Linked DNA regions of Homo sapiens: region 2 is linked to region 1. Evidence: promoter capture Hi-C in human tissues and cell types (Jung and others, 2019). All regions are on one chromosome and are shown on one strand. Each heading gives the region's core, a stretch centred on a gene start or on the middle of the fragment in contact. The rest is flanking DNA. Distances are from core to core; before and after follow the strand shown.

Region 1 (2,700 bases), core at 147-2,646:
TGCCCCCAGGGGAACTAAACCAGAGTCCCCAGAGCTGCCAGGGAAGAGGCCGCGCCTTAATCAGACAAACGCCTCCTTGGATGCACAGGACAGAGCCCGTGCCTCCCCACCATCCGCCACTGCCCTTTCCAGACGCACATCCCACTCTCCGCCTTATTTCCTCCCCGCCAAGGACTTTACAGCCCAGCACAGAATTAAGCCTCGGAGGTGATCCGAGGGTGGGAAGCAGAGGGGCCCCGAGGCTCCGCCAGAAGCCCCGGCAGCGTCTCTGCCCCCTCCCAGGCGGACGCGCAGCCCCGGGAAGGGAGCCGGGCGGGAGCCTCGGTGGCGCACTGAGACTAACGCGGCTCGGCCCACGGCGAGGGCGGGGTGTCGCGGCTTTTGTTCCCGCGGACCTTCTGCCTCTCAGACAGAGCTTAGGGTGCGAGCGAACTCCCGGGACGTCCAGACTTGGGGAAGGCGCGGGGTGGCTATGGGTCTCCGACCCCTCCCATTTCTCGCAAGTTACACAAAAGGGAGACGCGGACATGCACAAAGTTTGCCTGTGGAAGGCGGTGCGCGACCCCGACGCCGGCTCGGGCTAGGGTCGCACCCAGGCTGCCGCCGCCAGCAGCCGCGAAAAGAGGTTGGAGCAAGGAAGGGGGATGGGGGTGAGAGAGGAAGGTGAAACGAGGCGGAGAACGCAGGGAAAAGCGAGGGGCTCCTAGCTTCCTGGGCTGTCCCGACTCCTCCTCCTCCTCCCCAGGGCCCAAGAGAAAGGAAAGGGCAACGATTCAAGAGCGAAGGACTGGCTTTAGGGACGCTGCGTTTTCGGTTTTCCCCACGTGCTCCTTCCCCCTTCCCCCCTGTCTGAATGTCTCTCGCCTCCCCCGACCCCCGCTTCCAAGGCAGGGACTAAGTCGGGGTCTGGGCTCAGGGTCGCCCCCTACCCTTCTCGCCCCGGGCTGGCGCGGAACCAGGGAGACCAGCGCCTCGCCCGCTCCCTCTCAGCGGGCCGGAGCGCGACTCCCTGGGGCAGGGCTGGGCCGAAAGCGGGGATGCGCTGGACGTCCGCAAGCGGGGGCGGAGAGGAGAGGGGTCCCATTGACGGACCCCCGGCTTCTCTGCATTAAAGACTTGGGTTAAGGTCTTGGGGGGTATCGCGTCCCCACCGTGCAGCCTCCCCCCGCCTTCCGAGGCGCGGCACCCACCTCCAGCGCCCGAGCCGTCCAGGCGGCCAGCAGGAGCAGTGCCAAACCGGGCAGCATCGCGACCCTGCGCGGGGCACCGAGTGCGCTGCTGTGCGAGTGGGATCCGCCGCGTCCTTGCTCTGCCCGCGCCGCCACCGCCGCCGTCTCCCGGGGCCCCCGCGCACGCTCCTCCGCGTGCTCTCGCCTACCGCTGCCGAGGAAACTGACGGAGCCCGAGCGCGGCGGCGGGGCTCAGAGCCAGGCGAGTCAGCTGATCCGGCCCACCCCGCTCGGCACCCGAGAGAGACCCCTAGCGGCGCCGCCGGGGAACTGCGCCCGCTCGCGCCGGGAGGGGCCCTCGCGCCCCGCGCCCACAGGTGCACGCGCCCTTGGCGCCGCCTGCACCCCACGCGCCCCCTCCGCTCCCCGGCCGACGGCCCACCTGGGCTTCGTGAACAGTGGGAGGGAGAGTCTGGGGCCAGGAGAGGGACGGTGCAGGATCAGGGAAAGGTGAGTCCTAGGACGCTGAGGCTCTAGAAAAGTCGAGAGCGCTCCTGCTCGTCCCCGTGAGCTTGAATCATCCGACCCCGCAGGCCTCCCGGGGGTGTCGTATAAAGGACTGCTGCTAGGGTGCGTTTTTATCCGCATTTCGTTTTTTCTCTCGGTTTGGAGAGGTGGGGCAGGCGTTTCTGGAAGAGAATGAGAACGAGTGAAGCTTAAAGGAAATAGGATTTTCTTTGCTTGTTGAGACAGCAAAACCTCATTTTTTAACCCCCAACGTCAAAAGCAGGCACGAGCAACCTGGAATTTCTATCTTTAGAACGAACCAAAGGAGCAAGGCGCAGGACCTGGCAAAGAAGCGGCCAACCCATTTACTTCTTCTTGAAAGCAGGGTTCTGGGCTTGGGTTTTGTTTCTTTCTTATATTTTTGTTTGTTTTTGGTTTTGTTTTGTTAAAGGGGGTGGTCAGTGTGGATTTTGCGGGGCGGGGGGTCTTTTTTTGTTGTTAAGCAGGGATGTAACATCCATCTGAGTTGGGGAAGAAGGAAAAATTAGGAGAGATCATTCGTATTCGACCCCCGTAAATGAGGACTTCTGACCTCAAACGCTGCCCTTGTTCTTCATTGTGTCTGTCCTGAATTATAGAAATGAACCTTCTGCCATGCCACTTTCTCCTGGATTAAACACAAACCGTCCACTGTCCAGTTAGTGTCCAGATAGTTTAGAATGCTCTAGAACTGCCCAGATATATCCCCTGCTCTTGACCTGAAGTAGCATTTAGTTACCAAGCCACAGCCCACTCCACACAGGGCTTGGAGCGAAGGACTGAAGCCAGGGAGTGCTCTGGCCCTTCTGAGGGCTGCACTGCAGCCTGCCTTCTCTCCCTTGCTCATTGCGCTGACAAGGGTGCCTAGGCCCGGGAAGGATGGCTCAGCCAGCGGGGTACAGACTTCCTTCCTGGGAAGTCATTTCTGTACCAGCTCCCCTAAATGTTGTCTTGTGTGTCTTTTCCCGCACTAGGCATTCAGTCT
Region 2 (2,700 bases), core at 170-2,669, 780 kb before region 1:
CATGTTATAGTGGGCTCACTGGCTACCTGTGTAACCTTGGACAAGTTACCTAATCTCACTGCACCATCTGTAGCATTGAGATAATACCTACTTCGTCAGGCTGTTGTAATACATAAATGAGTATATAATAAATGCTTAATAAATGTTAGCTGCTGCATATTACAGTTATTCTTCAACAGCATTGATTTTATCCTAATCCTGTGTATTCAGTATCCAGCAGAGTGTCCAAATCCTATAGTACTCCATCTAGGTAAATTTTCCAAATGTCTTTAATTGACTATTTCCTTTTGGTTAGTCTCCTCATATGGCCCCTTTCATCGGCTTCCTTTTGCCATCAGTTTTTTCTCTTTTCCCTTTAAACTAGCAAAGACTTTATAACATATATTTAAACAGGATCCAAATACCTTTGATATGGTTTGGCTGTGTCCCCATCCAAATCTTATCTTGAATTGTAACTTCCATAATCCCCACATGCCAAGGGAGGGACCCAGTGGGAGGTAATTTAATCATGGTCGTGGATTTTTCCCGTGCTGTTCTCCTGATAGTGAATACATCTCACGAGATCCGATGGTTTTATAAAAGGCAGTTCCCCTGCACACGCTCTGTTGCCTGCCACCATGTAAGATGTGCCTTTGCTCCTCCTTCGCTTTCCGCCATGATCGTGAGGCATTACAGTTCCACAGCCATGTGGAATTGTGAGTCCATTAAACCTCTTTTTTTAAGAAAATTACCCAGTCTCAGGTATTTCTTCATAGCAGTATGAAAATGGACTAACACAACCTTCAGAATATTCAGCTCATCTTCACTTAATTCTCTGAATTTTGTACTTTCATATATTTCAACCTGTTCTTTGCCTTAAACCAAACTCCAAATAAATAATTTTATGTACCAAAATTTCTGCTCAAAGAACATTCTAGGACATAGTATGCTCAATTTGTAAATACTTAGAAATACCTTAAAAGGTCACAAGTTATGGTGGCAGAGTCTCAAGGAAAACCCTTTTTAGAAACCATTCTTTTCTACTTTCATGTTCTTAAGGGTGGGGAATAATCTTCTTTTCTGTTTTCTCTACATGAGACAATTATACAAAAAGACAACCTTTGTTTCTTAGAAATCCTATAACTTTTGTGTCTTTAGTTTCTTTATAGCCTTCTATTTTTCCCACACAAAACAACTTTAATCATCTGTGACACTGATTTTTATGGCAACCCATTTTCCTGGATTCTATAAACAGAGACACAGGCTTTAAATTACCAAAATCACACTGTTCAAAAACACCTCATTTTTCAAGGCAAGAAAATAAAATAAAAAGTTCTTTCTCAAAGTCAAAACAATTCTTTTCTGCTCAGCTTTCTAGATGCCTAAGGGCTTTTTGGTTGTTATTATTCCCTGACTTTCTAGCTATCCACCTGACCTTCAGCTTCTCTGTCAATCCAATTGGTTCATTATTTCCTTGCCAAAATCATCTTCTTAAAATTTAAATTTGATCATTTTACTTTCTGGGAAAAAAACCTCCATATGCTCTCCAATAGCAATAGAACAAAGGCCAAATTACTTTGCATAATCCTAATCACTATCCATTTCTTTCCTAATGCCCCTTCTTCACCACATTCCTGTGATGTCATCTACTTCCCCTTCTCTGGCCTTATCCCACAGCTCCTTTCCAGTCTCCTCCTCTTCATTCTAGACCTATGAATGTAGACATGCTCCACAAGTACATTTTCAACCTTCTGCTTTTCTCTCTGGATATCCTCTTCCCAGAGAGCTCAAATGTTCCCAAGTTGTCCCTGATAATACCTCCAAACACCACCTTGAGCAGTGCTACCCAACAGAAATACGTCAGCTGCAAACAAAAACTACACATTTTTAAATTTTCCAGTAGCCACATTTAAAAAGTAAGGAGAAGCTGATGAACTTATTTTAATCATATATTTTATTTAACTGAATATATTCAAAATATTATGATTTCAACATGTAGCTAATATTCTTAAATTGACATATTTTACATTTTTTAACTGTCTTGGAAATGGATGTACATTACACTTACAGTATATCCCAGTTAGGATTAGCCACATTTTGTTAGCCACAGTCTTCAATGGCCACATGTGCCCAATGGCTACCATATTCAACAGTGCAGATCTAATGCTCTAAACACTTTCTCAAAGTATGCCTTTGGTAACCCACTCAACATCTACCCAAGAATGCCCTCCCAGCACTTCAACCTCCAGGTCTAAAACAAAATACATTTCCCTCCTACATTTCCTAGTGCCTCACAAAAGCACCAGCTCCCCTTCCTGACTTCCTTGTAGCTACCAGTAGGCCCAAAAATATACCGATATTTGGGTTCTATAACTATTGAAATATTGAGGAAGCAGAAGGAATCTTTCAGGTCATCCTATCCAACCTCTAGGATTTTCCTCTACAGAGTGGTTTCTAACATATGGCTAAAGCTTCTGTGAGCCTCCTGATATTGTAGGCAAAATGTCCATACCTGGATTTTTCTGGCAAAAATGTATCTTTAGCTTTAAACAAGAGTTTAAACACCATGACCCAGGCTCAGCTCTGCCTCTTCTCTCTTCTGTAACGGCCACACCCAATTTATTACCAAATCCTGATCACTCAACTTTCCTGATCTCTCTAATGCAAACCTACTTCTCCCTTCCCACTGCCACTGACTTAGAATTATGTGCATATTTCTTG

The links. Contacts are between HindIII fragments. The study calls those that stand out against the background at their distance.
Region 2: a fragment that was not itself captured here is called in contact with the fragment with the promoter of APP in region 1 in 1 of the 25 tissues and cell types used here (lymphoblastoid cells).

Annotation. Positions count from the first base shown.
Region 1 is chr21:26,169,374-26,172,073 of GRCh38, forward strand. It overlaps APP (amyloid beta precursor protein), which reads right to left and starts at 1,397. Exons shown (of 18, transcript NM_000484.4): 1 at 1,191-1,397. The coding sequence starts at 1,247. It overlaps APP-DT (APP divergent transcript), which reads left to right and starts at 1,494. Exons shown (of 4, transcript NR_186396.1): 1 at 1,494-1,679. RefSeq lists enhancers at 1-109, 608-1,132 and silencers at 150-419, 920-1,749. The HindIII fragment of the contact is 4,835 bases long and covers 1-2,700 here.
Region 2 is chr21:25,389,275-25,391,974 of GRCh38, forward strand. The region is part of intron 4 of LINC00158 (long intergenic non-protein coding RNA 158); the gene reads right to left. Among named protein-coding and RNA genes, the nearest start is that of LINC00158, 41 kb to the right of the region's middle. The HindIII fragment of the contact is 3,867 bases long and covers 1-2,700 here.